Regions from separate parts of the Homo sapiens genome. Here regions 2, 3, 4, 5, 6 and 7 are each linked to region 1. Evidence: promoter capture Hi-C in human tissues and cell types (Jung and others, 2019). All regions are on one chromosome and are shown on one strand. Each heading gives the region's core, a stretch centred on a gene start or on the middle of the fragment in contact. The rest is flanking DNA. Distances are from core to core; before and after follow the strand shown. Region 1 holds the start of S1PR3 (sphingosine-1-phosphate receptor 3). Region 2 has its middle 7.8 kb from the start of LINC03026. Region 3 has its middle 60 kb from the start of SPATA31C2. Region 4 has its middle 78 kb from the start of SPIN1. Region 5 has its middle 16 kb from the start of SPIN1. Region 6 overlaps SPIN1 (spindlin 1). Region 7 overlaps SPIN1 (spindlin 1).

The links. The method cuts DNA at HindIII sites, captures the fragments that hold promoters and counts their contacts. A contact is called where the count stands out against the background at its distance.
Region 2: a fragment that was not itself captured here is called in contact with the fragment with the promoter of S1PR3 in region 1 in 1 of the 25 tissues and cell types used here (dorsolateral prefrontal cortex).
Region 3: a fragment that was not itself captured here is called in contact with the fragment with the promoter of S1PR3 in region 1 in 1 of the 25 tissues and cell types used here (aorta).
Region 4: a contact is called between a fragment that was not itself captured here and the fragment with the promoter of S1PR3 in region 1, in 2 of the 25 tissues and cell types used here (mesendoderm cells and thymus).
Region 5: a contact is called between a fragment that was not itself captured here and the fragment with the promoter of S1PR3 in region 1, in 1 of the 25 tissues and cell types used here (dorsolateral prefrontal cortex).
Region 6: a fragment that was not itself captured here is called in contact with the fragment with the promoter of S1PR3 in region 1 in 3 of the 25 tissues and cell types used here (dorsolateral prefrontal cortex, lymphoblastoid cells and mesenchymal stem cells).
Region 7: a fragment that was not itself captured here is called in contact with the fragment with the promoter of S1PR3 in region 1 in 4 of the 25 tissues and cell types used here (dorsolateral prefrontal cortex, heart left ventricle, pancreas and 1 more).

Annotation. Positions count from the first base shown.
Region 1 is chr9:88,990,011-88,993,126 of GRCh38, reverse strand. S1PR3 (sphingosine-1-phosphate receptor 3) reads right to left here and starts at 1,659. Exons shown (of 2, transcript NM_005226.4): 1 at 1,432-1,659. RefSeq lists a silencer at 1,819-2,113. The HindIII fragment of the contact is 13,055 bases long and covers 1-3,116 here.
Region 2 is chr9:88,084,180-88,087,295 of GRCh38, reverse strand. No RefSeq gene overlaps it. Among named protein-coding and RNA genes, the nearest start is that of LINC03026, 7.8 kb to the right of the region's middle. The HindIII fragment of the contact is 5,231 bases long and covers 1-3,116 here.
Region 3 is chr9:88,197,097-88,200,212 of GRCh38, reverse strand. No RefSeq gene overlaps it. Among named protein-coding and RNA genes, the nearest start is that of SPATA31C2, 60 kb to the right of the region's middle. The HindIII fragment of the contact is 3,061 bases long and covers 1-2,962 here.
Region 4 is chr9:88,308,655-88,311,770 of GRCh38, reverse strand. No RefSeq gene overlaps it. Among named protein-coding and RNA genes, the nearest start is that of SPIN1, 78 kb to the left of the region's middle. The HindIII fragment of the contact is 7,995 bases long and covers 1-3,116 here.
Region 5 is chr9:88,371,107-88,374,222 of GRCh38, reverse strand. No RefSeq gene overlaps it. Among named protein-coding and RNA genes, the nearest start is that of SPIN1, 16 kb to the left of the region's middle. The HindIII fragment of the contact is 7,070 bases long and covers 1-3,116 here.
Region 6 is chr9:88,398,810-88,401,925 of GRCh38, reverse strand. The region is part of intron 1 of SPIN1 (spindlin 1); the gene reads right to left. Among named protein-coding and RNA genes, the nearest start is that of SPIN1, 12 kb to the right of the region's middle. The HindIII fragment of the contact is 9,312 bases long and covers 1-3,116 here.
Region 7 is chr9:88,420,775-88,423,890 of GRCh38, reverse strand. All of the region lies in intron 1 of SPIN1 (spindlin 1), which reads right to left. Among named protein-coding and RNA genes, the nearest start is that of SPIN1, 34 kb to the right of the region's middle. The HindIII fragment of the contact is 4,331 bases long and covers 1-3,116 here.

The sequences.
Region 1 (3,116 bases), core at 410-2,909:
TAGAAAATCAGAGACTCATGCATTTGAATAAAAATCACAATGATAAAGGGAGAAATGGCACTTTCAAAGATGAAAACTGGTTGAGAAATCATTCTCTCTAAATCTTAGGGGGAGGCTCTTAAGGGCTAGCTTCAGTTTGTATCTCTGGTGTTAGGTGATGGAAGTGATTTCAGAGGCCCAAAGTGAGTGCTTACTGGTTTGCTAATGAAAAAAGCCTGACGTGCGGTTCTTCTTCTATGGCAACAAAGTTATTCAACCTAGCATTAAGGTCTGCATCCATGAAATAATACTTTACAGATATGAACACTTCCACAACTCCTCAAGCGCACACACACACACACACACACATGCCCCGCACCATCACCACCTCCTCAACCAACACCAGCCCTGGGCATGGCCAGCTATCCTTGTTAGTCATGTATCTGCAGAGCATAATCCTTCCCTTGTACTTTCTAGGAATTATATTTTTCTTAACTATGCCTGCAAGATTTTCATCTATGAATAAAAAACATTGAAAAGATAAATTATGAATATGTGGTTATATACAAAGTCTGTGACTTCTAATGTCCAGATTTTAGAATGATGCCTAATTCTGGAGGTCTCAGAGGTCCAAGTGGGAGTGGGTACCATGAATGGGGGGGCCTCCATTTAAAAGTAACCTTCTAAAGAGCTCTCTGTTCCTGTAGCTCCCCTTTCCTTATTGGAAGGGTCAAAACGAAGTGTGTTCCCTTAAAAATCCAACAAGAAGTTCCTCTCTTATATCCAAATATAAAAACACCACAAAGAAATATACCATTGGGAGTGTCCAAAGCCAGAAAGTCAGAGGAAGAGAGAGAGAGAGAGAGAGAGAGAGACTGACTATTGGGAGACTCAAAAAGCCCAAAGCCCCTTCTCTAGCTGTTATCTCAGTTACGAACACAACGTACTGATTTTCCGTGGGAACCTCATTATTGCACTGTGGGGACTTCGTCTTCCAGCACCGATTCTGACGGCCCTAATTGCCTTGTTTGAGAAATGTTAGGAAAAAACTAATTTTCCGGCGAATATTGTTTAAAAGAATGATTTTCCCAGGCTAACGACCACAACCCTCTCCCACGTCCAGCATCCCCAGGCCCTGGCACTGTGGAAGCCTAACTTGTTAATTGTCCAAGGAAAACGACTGATGGAACTTCTCCACGAACAGCCTCTCCACTTTCATCCAGGTATTCAGCTCCAGCCCGTTGTAAACGCTCCGGGTGCGGTGGAAAAGGCCTCCTCCCTGTTCCTGCAGCGGCTCTGGGGGAGGGGTGCTGATGTGGAGCGCTCCGGCCGCCGTGGCGCGCCCAAGTCCCCGTCGCGCCCGGGATCGGTGGGGATTTTGTTGGAAAGGTGGGTCCTTCGGCCCCCAGCCCCCCACCCTGGTTCCGCGCCCCGCCCGGGCCCGCCTCTCACCTCCGTCGGCTGAGGGCGCTGGGGCCACCGGCATCCTAGCGGGTGGCGCGCGGCGGTGCCGGGGCGCCCGGTCCTGCGCTCGAATGCCAGATGGGCTGGGAGGCCCGGCAGTCTCAGCGCTCGCGACGTCGTTCCCGGGCCTGGGGTCCTGCTCGGTCGCGTCCTGCAGCCGCCTTCTGGTCCCTGAGTCCCTGTTGCCCGTCCCCGGAACCGGCTTCCTCGGCCTCTGCCCGAGCGAGTCAGAGACTAAACTTTTCCAGCGGCCCGCCGGGGCGGGACCCGCGCTCCGCCCCTCCCCTCGCCGCCCCCGACTCCCGCCCCTCTCCCCGCCCCCCTCTCCCCGTCCCCCGCCCGCGAACCCGGCACTCCTCCAGCTCCCCACCTCCCGCTCAAGCCGCCTGGTCTCCGTGCGCCCCGCCCGCCCCTAGCCTGGACCCCTTCTCCCCGACCCTACCAATCCCCTAGGGTCCGGCTCGCCCTTCGGCCCCTGTTCCCAGGCCGGCCTCCAGACCTTGTCCTCATCGGGCGAGCTCCAGGTGCAGAAACCGGGCGCCCAGAGACCCAGCGGGAACAGGCTTGGAACCAGGTCCGAGGTCTGGGCTTGGGCGGGCGCCTGTCGCCCTGACAGCGAGGGTTTGTTTGGGCCGATTCTTAATAGGAGGATTAATACTATCATTATCGTTGTCCAGATCCTGACCATTTCTTTTGTAACTGGCCGAGCACCGGCTTGGGCTTGCAGGTGGGCGCCTGGCGCCGGACAGCGTTTTTGTTTGGGCTTCTTCCTTTTCCGCGCGGGTCCCCTCCGGCGCCTGCCTGGTCCCTCTCCGCGCTCTACCCCCAGGCACGCAGAGACTTGGGCTCCAGGCGGGGGCAGCACTCTCCCCCAGCCTCTGCTGGTGCACCAGAGCCCACTCCGGCACAGAGCAGCGCCCCTCCTAGACCGGCAGCCAGCAGATCTCAGCCGACCCCCATGCGACCCCCTTCCTCACGCGGATTTGCCCCTTTTGTGTGGCAAAAATAATAATAATAATAATAAATCCATATGAAGGCTTCAAACAGAATTCCGAGAGAAGGAACTGCCAAATTTTCAATCAATGCCAAAGGCCATGATTGAGCGAACACAGAAACAACTGTAGAAGCTTGGGGAGAAAGGAGAAAATTAAAGAAAAAGGAGGAGGAGGAAAAGGAGAGAGGAGAGAAGCGGGAGGAAGAAGACGAAAAAGCAAGGAGAGGCCTGTTATCCGACCGTGCATTCCTGGGCCGGCAGGATTGGGCCGCAGGGGCCGCTGCAGAGAGTTGAGTTTGTGCAAAGGCCGCTCGTTACTTTCTGTCTTTTGCCCTCTTGCCTCCAGAGGATCAGCCCAGCGCATCCTTCTCTTGGAGCAGGGTGCATACGCTTATTTGGGGTGCAGTTTGAGCGGTGAAGGGCACCAAGAGTGGAAGTCGGCGGCACTCCTGTTCCCTGCAGAGAAACGCAAGCCCTCAGCAATTGAGCTGAAGGAGGCAAGTGACTCTGCCTGCTGAGGCTGCCAGCCCTAGAGGCTCTGGCCCCCGGGAGCTGGGGTACTTCCCAGCGTTTTCGCCTAAGCCACTTCGCCTGTGCTACTGTGGAGTCTTCCGGCACTGTAGCCTTCCAACTTGTTCAAAGTGCCTGGTGCACGGCTCTGAGAAGCCACTTCTGTCCC
Region 2 (3,116 bases), core at 323-2,822, 910 kb after region 1:
TTTATTTGTAACAACCGAAAACTAGAAGCAAACCAGAGGTTTTTCATTGGATGAATGGTTAAACAAGCTCTGGTACATCCATATCATGGACTACTTCTCAGCAATCAACAAACTATTCATGCAACAACTTGTATGAATCACAAGGCAGTTACACTGAGTGTAAAAAAAAAAAAGCCACAGGTAACGTACTATATGATTGTTTATATATCATTCTCAAAATTACAAAATTAAGAAAGAAAAAATGAAATTACAAAATTATAGAAATGGGGAATAATCTAGTGAAGATTAGTGATTGCCCAGGGTTAGGGTTGGGATGGGAAAGCCAGGGGCCAAAAATGATTAATATGAGGGATCCCTGGAGTGCTGGGAATGTTCTGTATCTTGACTATGCCAGCATCAACATCCTACCGTGATACTTGTTTTACAAGATGTTACCATTGGGAGAAACTCAGTGAAGGATACTCAGGATCTCTCTGTATTATTTCTTAAAACTGCAAGTGAGTACACAATTTTCTCTAAATAAAAGGTTAATTTTCGAAAAATGTGGTGCGATTATAAGTGTGTTTCACTTCATTCTTATTGTTTTATATATCCCAGCACAACACACATTTATATTTGCTTGACTCCATAAGTATTTGAATTTCTGAACTCTTCTAAATGACAATTAAAACAGCCAAATGATTAATTAAACCACTGAAAAGATGTTAGCTTCTTGTTGTTTGTCAAAAGGATTTATCTCTTTTATCTGTTTCACATGACTGAATCATTCCTCCATATACATATCGCTGAGAAGCACCGTATAAATTTTTTTAGAAGTTATATATAAATAACATTTGTTGGCCGGGCGTGGTGGCTCACGCCTGTAATCCCAGCACTTTGGGAGGCCAAGGTGGGCAGATCACCTGAGGTTGGGAGTTCAAGACCAGCCTGACCAACGTGGATAAACCCCGTCTATACTAAAAATACAAAATTAGCTGGGTGTGGTGGCGCATGCCTGTAATCCCAGCTACTCAGGAGTCTGAGGCAGGAGAATTGCTTGAATCCGGGAGATGGAGGTTGTGGTGAGCCGAGATTGTGCCATTGCACTCCAGCTTGGGAAACAAGAGCGAAACTCCGTCTCAAAAAATAAATAAATAAATAAATAACATTTGTTATTCAAAATTGGGATTCCGAAATGAGTTTCACTGAACATTTTATTACAGAATGATTAAATAGAAGAAGCAGATGGTACCATGGCCTTGAGACCCAAAGGATGGGGAAGAGACTGTTGCTTAGATGAAGGAATGACAGTAAATTAGATATTTCAAGTAGACAAAATTGCTTACAATGATGGGGCCTACCATTTGCAAGCAAGTACAACTAGAATCAAGCACTGAACAGTCTGTAGGATCACATATAAAGACTATAAAGAATAAAAGCTAAGTCTGCAAGCATAAAATGCTATCTTTCATTTTCATCTTTCCTACGAAACATAAAAGACCCAAATCAAAAATTAAACCCACAGCCAGTGAATTGAGCGAGTCATCTCTGCAGCTGAATAGGCCTTAGGTGATCTTGGTGAGCAACAAATGAATAATGAAACACTTGAAATGCTAAGACATTTGTATAATTATGGAACCTGCTGAGGAAGGAGCGGCTGTAATGAAAGCCACAGGGAAATGCAACGCAGAGCATTCTGGGTAATCCCCTAATCACACTTTTTAACGAGAGAGAAGTCCTTTCAGGCATGTACCTTTCATTCCTCTAGAAACTAAGTGCTGAATTTCCCACTAGAAAATTATTTAAATCAATGAATCAATGAATATTCTTTGGAATTTGTCTTTATGTAGAAAGACAAACGAAGGATAAATAGTCCAGAAAAATAATTAAGTCCCATCGTTTTTCATAAGGCTCTTTTTCCTCGTTCTGAACTCAAAGCACTTTGATCTAGATACACTATCGTACTCTCCAGTATAGACTCAACTTCCACCCAGTGCTCGGTGGGACGAGAGCCAATGGCCTTGGACACCCCGGCTGCTGGGGTTTGGTCTCCTCCAGCCCCCATCTGCCCTCTCATTGTCAGAGGCATTTGAACCAGAACAACTCCATCTTGAATAGGGGCTAGATAAAATAAGGCTGAGATCCACTGGGCTGCATTCCCAGGAGGTTAGGCATTCTAAGTTACAGGAGAGACAGGAGGTCAGCACAAGATACAGATCACAAAGACCTTGCTGATGAAAGGCTGTGGTAAAGAAGCTGGCCAAATCCTACCAAAACCAAGGTGGTGATGAAAGTGACCTCTGGTTGTCCTCACTGCTCATTATGTGCTAATAATAATACATAAGCATGCTAAAAGACACTCCCACCAGCACCACAACAGTTTACAAATGCCATGGCAACATCTGGAAGTTACCCTATATGGTCTAAAAAAGGGAGAAACTCCCAGTTCCAGGAATTGCTCACCCCTTTTTCCCGAAAACCCAAGAATAAGTCACCCCTTGTTTAGCATACAATCAAGAAATAACTATAAAAATAGCCAAGCAGTAGCCTTTGGGGCTGCTCTGCCTATGGAGTCATTGTTCTTTCATTCCTTTACTTTCTTAATACACTGGCTTTCACTTTATGGACTCACCCCAAATTCTTTCTTGCATGAGATCCAAGAACCCTCTCTTGGGGTCTGGATCAGGACCCTTTCCCAGGCACATCATCACCATTCAGGAGGGTTAGTCCACTCACATTTCCAATCCCTGCTCCAACTGACTGCCAGCCAGAAAGGAGCTCCCAGTGTCTCACACGTCATTCTTGACATCTTACCTCCTTCACGAAAACCATTTTAACAGACAGGAAACGAGACCATAGAACTTATTGCCTTCTTCTCTGCAACTCACCCCAACACCTCTCGTATCTTTATCTTTGTCCCTGCTGCAAAGAATACAAATATATATATTGGTTGAGATGGCATGTGCCTCTAGTCCCAGCTACTTGGTGGGCTGAGGTGGGAGGATCTCTTGAGCCCAAGAGTTTGCGGCTGCAGTGAGCTATGATCGTGCCACTGCTCTCCAGACTGGGTGATAGAGCAAGACCCCATCTCTAAAAAATAAATAAACTAAAAGTTTTAAAAAAATCAGTGGCGTAAA
Region 3 (3,116 bases), core at 183-2,682, 790 kb after region 1:
CTTTTTCCTTCCCCAAAATCGGAGTCAAAGGAGTTTCTTCTTAGAGCTCCCAATCACCTCTTTCTTTTCTTTCTTTCTTTCTTTTTTTTTTTTTTTTTTTTTTGAGACAGAGCCTCACTCTGTTGCCCAGGCTGGAGTGCAGTGGATCAATCTCTGTTCACTGTAACCTCCACCTCCCCGGTTCAAGTGATTCTCCTGCCTCAGCCTCCCGAGTAGCTGGGATTACAGGCACGTGCCATCATGCCCAGCTAATGTTTGTATTTTTAGTAGAGATGGGGTTTCACCATGTTGGCCAGCCTGGTCTGTCTTGAACTCCTGACCTCAAGTTATCCACCCACCTTGGCCCCGTGAGCCACCACTCCAGGCCAGAGATCTGATTTTTTAAAAATACTCATCTGTTCCCTTGCCATAATGGCATTTAAAAATTTTGAATGTTCTTGTTCCACAAATGTCATTCTCTACGTTATCAATTTGAGGATTCAATATTTTTATCAGGTCACTTTAGAATTCCTACCGTAAGGTTTTGCATGGGGTGTGTGTATGAGTGTGCAATTGTGATCAATGTGAATTACACACCTACAATTGTACGGTCTGTATGCAGCAGACCTGGGTTTACTATTGTCACAATACTAGACATTCTTGTATGTTTTTTGCAGTTCTTACATGTGAGTTTATCTTCTGTGGAAATTTTACCTTGTGGACTCCCTCAGCTGTGGTTGCCTCCCTGAGAAGTAATTTCACATTGACCCATAGGGTACATAGATTCCAACCAGATCACAGGTTAATGACGGGTTCAGGGCTCCTGTGGATGAAGCTGATGCAACCATGTTCATGTGAATGCACCTATTTCCACCCGTGACTGGTGCAGAGGCATTTCAACTCCTAATGAGCCAGCCCTGCACCCAGTTTGGGTCCTGAATACAAGACTCTCCCAGGCTCAACTCTTGTCCCTGTGTGATATTGGGCCCTACCCTTTCTCCTGTTTCAATCTCCAAAGGGGAATTTTTTTAAAGGTGTAGAAAAATAGGGGAAAAATGAACTCATAGATCTCAATCTTGGGTTTGCTAAGAATATTTTCCTAAAAATATGTATATCCTTTTTTAAAAATATTTATACGTTACTAAAGCAAAAAGAAAGTGTTACTTTCCCAGACATGCTAACTTCCCAGCAAATAAAGCTTTGGCAGATTGGCAAGTTTTGCAAATAAACAGGGACCATTCATCATGAAAGATGACAAGCATAGACACTCAAGATACCAGTTTCTAAAACAATGTCTAAACAACGCTTGAGTAAATTACTAACTTTAAAAATATATTTAATTTAAAAATTTCACAATTCGCATGAAGATGGCTTCTTCTTATTAAGAAACGTTAAAATCTTTGTTTTAATTTCTATTGTGAAATTAAATAATTCAAACTTCAAGTTGTTGGAACTTTAAGTTATTCTGAGCCTTGAGACAAATGTGGCTATGCAGCCTGAGTCACGTGCAGCGGCAACTTCCGCCTTTTTTTCCCCCTGTGAATAATTAAGAAGACCAAACAGCACGAGAGAGAAGACCTCCTCAGATCACCATCCCTCCTCATTGAGTAATAAAGTAATCTTCCTTGGCACGTAGCAATCTGTGACCAATCAAATTGCTTTAATGTATGCACTGGTCTCCTATAGAAAATGTTGTAATCCTCTGAAAATGTCTTTGTCTCTGTCTGTAAAAGTGAAACCTTAACTTCTCCACTTGGGAATGCTGACCATATTCATTTGGAGCTGACGCTTCATGAGTGGCTATCCTCAAGCTTTGCACTCGAATAAACTCTATCCTTAGTCATATTTTCTGAATCTCATTATTTAAGGTTGACACTATTTATGAGAAAAAGATGAAACAGAAACAACCGCAGCCAAGGTGAACTGGTCAAAACTGGCTAAGGTCGTAAAATAAAATAGAACTTTTACAACATACAGATGTGAATTAATAAAGTTTAGGCATCTCAGCTGAGAATAGAAGATTTGTATCTGAAGTCTCACAAATCTGGGTTTCATCAACTGCTTCAACTCAGTAAACATTGCCAGGGATTGCTCTAGGCACAATGCTGTGCTTGACAATGGGCATGCAAAGGCGACTAACATGTGCCCTTTGCCTCCCAAACAGCTACTTTTTAACTGATCAACCTCAAAAGTGCTAAACCTGGGATCACCAGACATTCTGCAGTGCAACTGGAACTTTCATGCTAAAAAAATTCAAACCTGCGTCTAAACAAGCCTCTAAATGTAAACATCAGCTTACAGGAAATACAAGAAGCAAAAGAATGTGTTAGTTACACCATAAGAATGCAATTCATCAAGATCCAGACTGTGGAAAATTGAGCAGACCAAACATATGGCCTGAAAGCCAGAAAGAAGAAGGGGAAGTATCACATATTGAAAGAGCTTAAGAGATTTATCAAATGCACGATGTAGACTTTGCATAGAGCCTATTTGAACACACCAACTGCATAAAGTTATTTTTGAGAAAATTTTAAAACAAACTGGGTATTAGATGAAATCAAGAAATATTAATTTGGGAAAGTATGATAATGTGCTGTGATTAGGTTTTTTTTAAGTGCTTATTTTTAGACAGACGTGATACATTTAAGACTGAAAACCTGGAATTTGCCTTAAAATGATCCAGAGAAACATTGAGTGGTGAGGAGAGGAAGGGGTGGAGAGTAGATAAAACAAGATTGGCAAAATGTTTATACTTGAAACTGGGTAATAAATACGTGAAGATTCATTTTATACTTCCTTTATTTTTGTGTATGTTTGAAAATATTTATAACAAAATGTTTGTAGAAGTAACACACAATTGAGTTTGACTCAGCAAAGGAAGGAAAGAAGAAAGGAAGGAAGGAAGGGAGGAAGAGAGGTAGGGAGGGAGGGAGGGAGGAAGGAAGGAAGGAAGGAAGGAAAAAAAAGAAGAGGGGGAGAGAATGTGCCTGTGTGTAGCAGCAGGAAAGCTGCAGTGAGCTTATGAAGATTTGTGGTGACGGCTGGCTGCCTTCCATGAGTGTCTCAGTCTTGGGAAATATCTTAATTCTGCCCGATGTGAGAAGTAATGGAAGGGTAGCAGTATTATAGACATATAA
Region 4 (3,116 bases), core at 388-2,887, 680 kb after region 1:
CACACCACTGCACTCCATCTAGCCTGGGCGACACAGCGAGACTCCATCTCAAAAACAACAACAAAAAAAACAAAACATAAAAGAATGTTGCTGAGCTGACAAGTCTTGCACCCCTGAGAGCTGGAGAACACCTCCGGAAGTGTTTAATTAAGGCTACATATATGCCAAAGCATTAGAAAAGCCAATGGTCAAGGGAGGCTGGAATTGAAAGAACAAGTCTGAACTGAGTCCTAATAGGCTGTAGAGGAACTCAGCTGGGATTTGAGGACTGCATTCTGAGTTAGTGATTCCTGACACAGGTTTCCTGAATCTTTTTTTTTTTTTTTTTTTTTTTTGAGACGGAGTCTCACTCTGTTGCCCACGGTAGAGTGCAGTGACACAATCTCGGCTCACTGCAACTTCTGCCTCCCAGGTTCAAGCAATTCTCCTGCTCAGCCTCCTGAGTAGCTGGGATTACAGGTGCTCGCCACCATGACTGGCTAATTTTTGTATTTTTAGTAGAGACAGGGTTTCACCATGTTGGCCAGGATGGTCTTGAACTCCTGACCTCATGATCCACCCACCTCGGCCTCCCAAAGTGCTGGGCTTACAGGCATGAGCCACCACACCCGGCCTCCTGAATCTTTGAAATGCTACTTCTGAGAGATACTCGGAAAAAGAAAGAAAGAACAAGAAAAGACAAAGAAAAAAAGGATTTGGGGTCAAATAAGTAAAATGTAGAGTCACAAGGAATTTCCATTAAGAAGACTAGACTGAACTGAAATCACTTTCCAGTTGTCATTCAAATGTCTGCTTTATAGAGATATGAAATTGTACAAATTTAAAATAAGGATGAAGTGAGGAAATGGCCAAAGGCACTTGGCAAGCTAGAGTTTAGGCATGCTGTTAGCCCTAGAGGCAGTGAGGAACAAGTATGAAAGGGAGGTAGGGAAAGAACCCACTGGTTCCAGGGCGACTGCTCCTCCTCCACCTCCTGACATCAAGGCAGTGAGCCTGATCTCAGCTCTAGGCGGCCTGACCACCCAACAGGGGTACAATGGGGGTACAGGGCTCTGGAGAATATTTTTTACAGGGATCTGTCTGCATACAAATGTTGACTAATCAGTGTATTACAAGATTCTTTGGCCCTGTGTGAGGTATGGTGACCTATGGCTAAGGCTCTGGAATATTGGATAGAGGAGAGGCACTTCTCTATTTCTTGCTTATCCAGTCAATGCATGTGAAGTTTCCTAATAGCGCCCCAGCGTGGTCTGTTTCCATTTAGGCCCAGGAATCATCGCTCCATGTTCTGTTTGGCCAAAACACCCCTCCTCCATGACTTCCTATGTCCCACTACGAGATGAAGGTAGCAAATAAACCTCCGCCATTTATGAAAACGTCATCACCGTGTGACAGAGAAACAGCAGCTGTTCGACATTATGACCCAGAGATGTAGAAAAAGGGGAGATTATGTTTAATATAAATACTTCATTATCTCTAAAGTATTTCTTTGCCGAACAATGCACTAAGTGTTTTCTTCCTCTTCCAGTCTCTGCTTAGAACTTATCAACTTTGTGGCCGGGCGCAGTAGCTCATGCCTGTAATCCTAGCACTTTGTGAGGCCGAGGTAGGCAGATCACCTGAGGTCAGGGGTTTGAGACCAGCCTGGCCAACATGGCAAAACCCCATCTCTACGAAAAATACAAAAACTAGCTAGGTGTGGTGGCAAATGCCTGTAATCCCAGCTACTCGGAAGGCAAGAGAATCGCTTGAACCCAGGAGGTGGTGGTTGCAGTGAGCTGAGATCACACCACTGCACTCCAGCCTGGGTGACAGAGTGAGACTCCATCTCAAAACCCCGTCTCTACTACAAATACAAAAAAAAAAAAAAAAAATAGCTGGGCACGGTGGTGCATGCCTGTAATCCCAGCTACTTGGGAGGCTCAGGCAGGAGAATCACTCGAATCCAAGAGACGGAAGTTACAGTGAGCCAAGACAGCGCCACTGCACACCAGCCTGGGCAAGAGAGTGAGATTCTGTGTTTGAGGGATCTGAGCAATTTGATAGTTGTGAGTATTTCTGAGTATCGCCCATGCTGATGGACACATCAGCTGTATTTCAACGTGCTTTGCATGTGATGTCTTATCAGTAAAAGCCTAGCACTAGATATTAAGCAATCTGTGTGAGTCTATTGTAATTAGGCCCCCTCTTGTTTGAAAAATAAAATACACAGTGAGAATCACTACATTAGATTTTGAATGCTATGAATTTAAGTGTGAATATCCTGGTTGTTTTTTGGCTCACCACTGAAGTTATTCAAATGTGATAAGGAAATTGGTTCCCAAAGTGGGAAAGGATCAAAACCATGGAAATGAAAGACGTAATGAGAAACACAGGTGTATTGCTTGGAGACCGCCTAACACAGTTTAGTTGCCAGCCTAACGGGCTAAATTTAGAAGGCAGGAACAAAGCTTGTTTCTTCTCTTGATTTGTGGGATAAAATGGGTCACTGGGCATGAAATAATCAAAATTGCAAGTGGACCAGAACGGCTTCTATGTTATTTGGAGCTTGCCTCCAGGCCTGGGGCCTCCCCTCATGGACCTCAGTTTCCTTATCTAGTTTTTTTAAATTGCGGAGTGTTCCAGCATTGTTCAAGCCTAAGAATGCTCAGAAACCAGAGAACCTCTTTCTTCATGGGAAATTTTTCTTCTCAGAAGTAACCAAAACAGATGAAAACCACGGCTATTCTGGTTGGAAGGTGGTGGGGACAGGCATTTTCCCTCAGCTTTTCATCCTGTGTGGTCCTGAGTACTGGAAGAACCTCTAGTTCCTAAAAAAGCACCATCTGAAAATCCTGGGATGATGTAAGGAGAATTGGCTTTTCCATATCCTCCAAGCTGCATGTTGTTCTGCTTTCTGTTGCTCATGGCAGACCACCCAAAACCGAGTGCCAGGTTTTGGTCAGGAGGCGGGAGCAGGAGTGAGGGGGAAGCTGAGGCCAGAGCTTTTACCGGGGCTTCCATGAGAATGGCAGAGCAGAGGAGGGGAAACAGTTTAGGATGGGCTAGTTCAAATGATTCCAGTAGGCTTTGGGCTTTAGGGGTGGTCTCTAGTTGCCTGGTACCTAGCTCTGGGA
Region 5 (3,116 bases), core at 155-2,654, 620 kb after region 1:
TTTCAGAATTCTGAAGACAAAGTATGAGTATTTGTCTTAATAGATACAACACCTACACAATGATATCATCTACACAATGATATCAAAATTTTAGATCTGCCAATTTAGTAGGTGAATTTATCATATCCTGTGGTAATCTGGATTTGCATTTATCTTATTAGTATAGGAGAAGTTGATCTCTTTTCATATATTTAAAAGTAATTTGTTCCTAAGGAATCCTCTAAAAAACTCTTAGAACTAACAGGCCAGATGCGGTGGCTCATGCCTGTAATCCCAGCACTTTGGGAGGCTGAGGCAGGCGGATCACCTGAGGTCAGGAGTTCGAGACCAGCCTGACCAACACGGAGAAACCCCATCTCTACTAAAAATACAAAATTAGCCGTGTGTGGTGGCACATGCCTGTAATCACAGCTACTCAGGAGATAGTGCCATTGCACTCCAGCCTGGGCAACAAGAGCGAAACTCTGTCTCAAAAAAAAAAAAAAAAAAAAACTCTTAGAACTAATAAATGAGTTCAGCAAGGTTTTAGGATGTATGATCAATATATAAAAATCAGTTGTATTTCTATACAGTAGCAATGAACAAACTGAAAATGAAGTTAAGAAAACAATTCTACTTATAACAGATTCCAAAAGAATAAAATAATGTTGAAGGTAATTAAAGTCCAAAATAAGTTTAAAAGCATCCTATATTCATGAATTGAAAGACAAATTCATAGAGACAAATTATATTGATGCCTAGGACTGGGGGGAATGGGGAATTGAGGGGTAATGGCTAAGGAGTACATGGTTTCTGAAACTGCCTTTGCAAAATTACTTAAATGGCTACCAGACATTATTCCAGAGGTCACAAGATTAGCAACTTCCCCAATTATTCCTGTAAATAACATCACTACGTAGACCCTAAGATTGGCGTTTTGAAATGTCTTTCCAGACTTTGCATTTTTTACTACTAGATAGCCCCACCCAGGCCCATGACTCAGCCAGTCCTGGGGCACCCACCAAGAAGCCGACTCAGACATAAGGATCATTTTCCATACCCCTATGATTGAATCCTCAACCAATCATCAGCACCTATAACCTCACTCCCTGCCCACCGAACTATCTTTAAAACACCCTAACCTTTAAGCCTTTGGTAATATTGATTTGAGTAGTAACTCCGTCTCTCATGTGATGTGACCAGCCTCACATCAATTGAAGTCTTCCTTTACTGCAATTTCGTGGTCTCAGTGAATTATTATAATTTTGTCTTTGCAATTGAAACCATCTTTGTAAAATTATGACTGAGACAGTGAAAGAGATCTAACCTAACCAACTCCATCTTGCTTCTAATCTCCAAGCTGTCCTTGTTCATTCCTGGGGGTAGGCTGAACTAACTTTGGGAAAAACTTAATTTATAGTTTATAGTTTAAAGTTTATAGTTTAAAACAAAGACCCTAATAGTCCTTTTCCCAAAGCAGACCTCCTTCTTGCCTGGGGACTAGACTGCCTTTGTAGGACTAACGTTAGCCATAAGATTAGAAATTATGGTTTAGGAGTCATGCAGCTGGAGGCTACAAGATTCTGACCCTCTCTAAGTTGCTCCTAAGATCAGAGCTTGAGATATTTTGCAGACCCTGCACTTGATGTGTCAGCTGGCTCCACCCAGATCAATAAACTGGCTCATCTGATCTTATTTTCCCCAACCAGGAACTGACTCAGTCCAAGAAGACAGCTCTCACTCCCAGTGATTTCATCCCCTACCAATCAGCACTCCCAGCTCACCGGCTTTTCCCAACCCACAAAATTGTCCTTAAAAACTCTGCTCCCTGAATGCTCAGGGAGACTGATTTGAGTAATAATAACACTCTAGTCTCCTGGACAGCTGGCTCTGAGTGAATTACTCTTTCTGTATTGCCATTCCCCTGTCTTAATAAATCAGCTCTGTCTAGGCAGAGGGCAAGGTGAACCCGCTGGGCAGTTACACAATGGGCAGGAAGAACTTGTCAAGTGCTTACATTTCTTTCTGGAGTAATAAAAATATTCCAAAATTGATTATGATAATAGATGCATAAGTATGAATATATAAAAGCTGAATTGTATGATTTAAATGAGTAAAGTATATAGTACATGAAATGTATCTCAAAAAAGCTGTTAAGAGAATAAAACAAAAAAAATTGGAAATTTATTTCTTGTAAATTGTCCATGTTGTGGTCTAATCTATTTGGATTTTGTCTTTTTTCCTTGATTTACAGGAACTCCTTACATGTTGAAGAATATTAGTCTGTTGTCACATATGTAGCAAAATTTTTAACCAATTTTTTATTTCGGTTTTTATTTTGTTTATGGTATTTATTTTCCTGCAGTGGTGCAATCATCAGCTCACTGTGTCCTCAACCTCTAGGGCTCAAGCAATCCACCCACCTCAGCGTTCCAAGTAAATGAGGTCCCAGGCACATAACATCATGCCCTAGCCAATTTGCTATTTTTTGTAGAGAGGAGGTCTTGCAGTCTCAAACTCCTGGGCTCAAGTTATCCTCGTGCCTTAGCCTCCTGAAGTGCTGGGATTACAGGCATGAGCCACCATACCTGGCCTAAAATTTGTGTATAATCAAATTTGGCACTATTTTCTTACACTGCTTCTTTAGTTTTTACAATGTTTAGAAACATCTTTCCCATACTAAGATAATGCATTTTTCTACTCTCATGTTCAGAAACACTTGAACACTTTGAAACATAAAAGTTTAAACACTTTTATGTTTAAAAACTTCAAATTATAGAATAAAACCTTAAGCACTGGAGAGGATTAATTTTGATTTTGTCTTTATTTATTTATTTCTGAGACAGAGTCTCTGTCGCCCAGGCTGGAGTGCAGTGGCACACGATCTCAGCTCACTGCAACCTCTGCCTCCCTGGTAAAAGTGGTTCTCATGCCTCAGCCTCCCAAACAGCTGGGAATACAGGCGCACGCCATGATGCCTGGCTAATTTTTGTATTTTTAGTAGATACGGAGTTTTGCCATGTTGGCCAGGCTAGTCTCCAACTCCTAACCTCAGGTGATCTGCCTACCCTAGCCTCCCAAAGTACTGGGATTACAGGGGCAAGCCACCAAGCCCAGCCTATTTTGTCTTTTTTTTT
Region 6 (3,116 bases), core at 293-2,792, 590 kb after region 1:
GTATTCATATGCATCCCATAAAGATGTAAAATATTATGTATTAATAAAAGGAAAAGATTGTTAGGAATTTAGCAAAGTATTTTTAGGCAAAGGCTTAAAACAGACACATAACATCTCAACATAAGCAAGAACATACAGTTCCACAACTTGCTTCTCTTATTAAATGTTACATTTTTTGTGTAATATAGTTGGCCCTTGGCCTCTTATCCCTTCAGCTCCACATCTGTGGATTCAACTAACCTCAGATTTTCAACATTTGGGAAATGATGGTTTCATCTGTACCAAACACATAAAGTTTTTTCCTTGTAGTTATTCCCTCAACAATACAGTATAACTATTTGTATAGCATTTACACTGTATTACATACTAGGAGTAATTTAGAGATTAAAGTATACAGAAAGATATGCATAGATTATATGCAAATACTACACCATTTTATATAAGAAACTTGAGCATCCATGGATTTTGGTATCCATGGGGTGGGGTGCAGGCGGGGAGGCAGGCGGAGTGTGGGTCCTGGAACCAATTCCCTGATATGGAGGGATGGCTGTATGAATTTTTTTTCCTATCAACCTCTTATTATTAACAGTGGCACAATATTCCAGTGTATGGGTATAATGGTCATTTACTCTACCTTAACTCCATTATTGGACAGTTGTTTCTAATTTTTCTCGATCACAAACACTGATATAATGAAAAACCTTAAACATAACGTATTTGTATACTGTCCAAATTCATCTATACAATAAAATCCTAGCAGTGAAACTGCTGGATCAACAGAGCACATGCATTTTAAATTCTGTTTTAGTGCAGCCATCCTCCAAAAAGGTCCTAGCAAAGTACAGTTCCACCAACAATGCAAGTTATTTAAGGGCTATGCATTTAGGTGAACCTTTCCTTATGAACTAATATTTTATTAGAATCTCACTCTGTTGCCCAGGCTGGAGCGCAGTTGCACGATCATGGCTCACCGCAGCCTCGACTTCCCCAGCTCAACTGATCCTCCCACCTCAGCCTCCCGAGTAACTAAAACTACAGGCACAAGCCACCACACCCGGCTAATTTTTTTTTTTTTTTTTTTGAGGCGGAGTCTCGCTCTGTCACCCCAGCTAGAGTGCAGTGGCATGATCTTGGCTCACTGCAACCTCTGCCTCCTGGGCTCAAGCGATTCTCCTGCCTCAGCCTGCCGAGTAGCTGGGATTAAGGCATGGGCCATGATATCCGCTTAATTTTTGTATTTTTAGTAGAGATGAGGTATCGCCATGTTGGCCAGGCTGGTCTCAAACTCCTTACCTCAGGTGATCCTCCTGCCTTGGCCTCCCAAAGTGCTGGGATTACAGGTATTAGCCATCACGCCAGGCCAAATATAGACTCTCATAGAAGGTGAGTGAATGGTCAGTGGAGTTCCTTGTTAGGCCAGAAAAAATCTAACCGAGGCATCAGGCCTTGTGGATGGGCCTCAGTCAATTAACCCAACTGTTAAGAGTCCTTTCTATCTCCTTGAACTATAACACTGAACCCAGAATCTCTGCTTAGTGAGCCCACATCAATAAATTCTGCCTGATTCAACTTTATGTTCCTTCCACTGTTATACTATACCCCTAAGATCCATTGCCACAAATCAAATACTCCTCCAGGCTCCTGACTATACAGTGGCAAAACTATACAATCTTTTAGAGTGCAGCATACCTTTCTCATGGGTCACCTCACTCTCTGGGGCCTGCTGCAACTACAGTCCAGCCACAGATCTACAAGAAAGAAGGATTACAGGGCAGATTCTGAGGAAGACAGTACCGTGCTGGGCAACTACCCAAAGGGAGGCCAATTACAGGTTTTTCAGGCAAACGGAGATTAAGTTCCTCTGGGAAGGGTTGGAAAGGCTGCTTCTCCGGGAAAGGCAGCAGAGCAGCATTTAAGGATTTAAGGACTCCAGCTTAAACAGAATCTGACCATATGCCTCCAATCCAATTTTCAGGATTCCATTCCTACCAATCAATGATCTCACCCACAAATTAGGAATTACATTTGCATTTTTAGAGCAGTCACAGAAACCTTCGGGTCCCTTACGTGTAGCCTGAGCTAAAAATTTAAAAGCCTGAGCTGATCATTCTGCTTTGTATGGTTTGAACTTGGCTGAGCTGAACTACATTCCCCAGAATTTCCTTTCCTTTATGTTTCCAACTTGCATGGCTCACAAGAGATTTTTGTGCAGCAACTGAAGGGTGCAGAAGATAAAGCAACCACCCTGCAGCTTGCACACACTGTTGCTGCTCATCTTCTGACTCACCCCATTCGTGTGAGGCAGTGGTTGGCCTAGAATTGCAGCTGCATCCACTCCACCTTCCTCTGGGCTCTCCTTAAGCTTCTCTGCCTCCTGGGCTACATTTGCCAAGGATCCAACTCTTACAGGCCACCCACACAAGCAGGAACAAAGGCAACTAGAACTAGCATGGTTTCCATGTACCTTGCCTGTGGCTTCCTGTGTCCTCTTCTTCCCCACTTTACATCCATCTTCCTTTCTCAAATGACTGCCCTGTGGACTTCAAACTCCAGCATCAATCACAAAGACAACAGCCTGACAGAAACCGCTTAACGGCTGGGCACGGTGGCTCACGCCTGTAATCCCAGCACTTTGGGAGGCCGAGGCGGGTGGATCACGAGGTCAGGAGTTCAAGACCAGCCTGGCCAACATGGTGAAACCCCGTCTCCACTAAAAATACAAAAAAACTAGCCAGGCATGGTGGCGCACGCCTGTAGTCCCAGCTACTCGGGAGGCTGAGGCAGGAGAATCGCTTGAACCCAGGAGGCGGAGGTTGCAGTGAGCCAAGATTGTGCCACTGCACTCCAGCCTGGGCAATAGAGCAAGACTCCATCTCAAAAAAAAAAAAAACTGCTTAAGCCAGCTCCTCCTACACTGTGTGAACTCAAATCACTGTAACAAATGCCTTAATACATACACACACATATCCCATATACGTTTTCCTTTATCCATCCTAGGGGTTTCATTTTTCTAAACCTTATGTGATCCTGAAAAAAATATTACAATTAAAAGTCAACAAGGCCGGGCACGGTGGCTCACGCCTGTAATCCCAGGGAGGCCAAGGCAGGCGGATGAC
Region 7 (3,116 bases), core at 320-2,819, 570 kb after region 1:
GAGATGCTGAGGCAGGAGAATCACTTGAACCCAGGAGGCAGAGGTTGTAGTGAGCCAAGATCACACCACTGCACTCCAGCCTGGATGACAGAGTGAGACCCCATCTCAAAAAAGTACAATAAATAAAGAAGATCAAGAGCTTTTTATTAAAAAAAAAAAAAAAATACATGATGTAGGCTGGGCACAGTGGTTCACACCTGTAATCCCAGCACTTTGGGGGACCGAGGTGGGCAGATCACCTGAGGCCAGGAGTTCGAGACCCGGTCTCTACTAAAAATACAAAAATTAGCCAGGTGTGGTGGTGCATACCTGTAATCCCAGCTACTTAGGAGGCTGAGGCAGGAGAACTGCTTGAACTCGGGAGGCAGAGGTTAGAGTGAGCCGAGATCGCACCACTGCACTACAGCCTGGGTGACAGAGCAAGACTGTCACAAAACAAACAAACAAACAAACAAAAAACCCACAAACCATAATGTAGTATTTCCCAATTTTAAAAAACATCCCATGACTCCACTCCCTTTCTGTGCTATTTACAGAATGACTTCAAAGATCAAGAAAAAAAATTCTGCCTGAGCCACTGCACCCAGCCAGATTAAAGAAATTTTAAAACTACATAAAATCAATTTATCCTAACAAATTCATTCAATGAAATGAAAATTTTAACTTACTGATATTCTGAAGTATGTACCCTCCTATCAGATTTAAGCTTATCTTAGCAGTATTTTCTGCTGTTTTCCACTTCATTAAAATTTCAAGTTGAACTTGTTAATAAACTAAAAATTTAAGACAGGAGTAGAAGGAAGAGTCGCAGTGGGGGAAGGATACATGGTGGCTATTTGAATAATATTAGAACGCAAAACTCCAGATAAGAGTCCTTCCCTCAGCTGGGTGTGGTGGCTCACGCCTGTAATCCCAGCATTTTGGGAGGCCGAGGTGGACGATCACCTGAGGTCAGGAGTTCAAGACCAGCCTGGCCAACATAGTGAAACTCGGTCTCCTCTAAAAATACAAAAATTAGCCAGGCATGGTGGTGGGCAGCTGTAATCCCAGCTACTCCAGAGGCTGAGGCAGGAGAATCGCCTGAACCCGGGAGGCAGAGGTTGCAGTAAGCTGAGATAGTGCCACTGCACTCCAGCCTGGGCGACAAGAGCAAGACTTCATTTCAAAAAAAAAAAAGAAAAAAGAGTCCTTCCCTCATGTTGAGATGTAATCTAAAAAATAAAATAAAATTTTAGAGTCCTTTCTCTTTTTTGAGTTGCAAGTAATAAATAGTTCAACCACCTGATCTTATCCTAACTCCTGTTAAGACCAGAAAGAAATGCAGAGACAGATCAAAAGGAAAACACTAATGAGTGCTAACTAATGAAAACCCTGGTTTTAACAGCTGCCATGTAAGGCTTTCAAAATTCAGATGAACTAGAGCTTTTCTAAAACAAATCCCACTCTTCTTTGACTGGAAAAGGCTAAATTTAATTTGCTCAGGTTTTTTTAAAGATATACCATCTTCACCTTAAGTTATTCTACTAAGTGATTAACTTTGTAAATGAAAACTGAAGGAAAAAACTGAAGGAAACAAAAAAATTTTAGATTCAGAGTTAGCATTATTTCTAGGTTAGCAGAACCTTCAAGTGTTACGGAAAATATTGTCAAATGGAGCTTTATTATAAGGTCATTAAGAAGAAGGTCCTGCATTCAGAGAGACCCATCAATAGTTGCTAAAACTATCAAGAGAAAGGTTGCTGGAGAACAATAATTGTACGGTATCAAAACAAGTAACTCCACAGGTTACTCGTTAATTATAAAGGGGAAAATGTTACTGCTTTACAATGGAGCAATCTTGACCCTTCACTACAACGGAATTGAAAGATAAAACAATTTGGCATCATTAAAAGGGAATCAACCTTGCTTTATTCACTTCTTAATGTGATATGACGCAAAGCAGACTATATCACTTATAAAATACTCGTCAAAAATGTTTTACCTCCAGGTGAAATGTGGCAATATAAAATATATTAAAAAAAAAATCTAGTCAAGCTTTTAGATCGAATTTCTAGTTTACAGAAATACAGGTGATGCAGAAGCAACTTAGACAACACCATGAGGAAACAGACAAATTAGAAAGGTGGACTTTGTACATGAAAAGTGGGCCATACTCTTCAAAAAGTCAGTGTCAAAAAAGAAAAATGGTAGACATACTGCTCTAGACTAAAAGAGACTAAAGACTCAACAATAAGACACAATGAATAAACCCTAAACACACGGTTTGTTGGGGCGGGGGGAGGGGGCTGGCGAAAGCTACAAAAGACACTTAAGGCCAGGCACAATGGCTCATGCCTGTAATCCTAATCCTTTGGAAGGCTGAGGAGTAGATCACTTGAGCCCAGGAGTTCAAGTGATCAATCAACACAGTAAGGATAGCTGTGGGTGGTGGTGCACATCTGTAGTACCAGCTACCAGCTACTCAGGAGGCTGAGGTAGGAGGATCACATGAGACCAGGAGGTTAAGGCTGCAGTGAGCCATGATCGAGCCACTGCACTTCGGCTTGGGCAACTGAGACCCTGTATCAAAAGAAAAAACACACAGACACACACACACACACATTTAAGACAACTGGGAAAATTTAAATGCAGACTAAACATTAGATATTGTAAGATTATCATTAAATTTTAAAAGCACAACAAAGACATTGTGGTTATGCCTGAGAATATATTCTTTGGAAACATGTTGAAATGCTTAAAGAGGTAGACTCACAATTTCTGTAAGTTAACTTCAAATAATTCAGGGAAAGAAAACAATACATACATGAGGGTTAACATAAATATCAAAAGACAAAATTACAATAATGTGGTTTAAGGATCTTAAACAGCTTTATTTACGATTCTAGAATCCAGCAACACTTTGTTCCATAAAATAGAATGAGCATCCAATGAGCAGAGCAGAGGCTACGTGTACAGACAGAACAGGCCTGAAGAAAGCAGAAACAAAGAACTGTGAAAATAATTCAAAATCAAATCTGCTGGAAGTTTTTAAATTATTTTCAGCCTTAAAGAAATGTGATAATGGGATCTGAGTCACATGACAGGCAGCTTTAGTCCTCTGATAATGAATTAGCCTC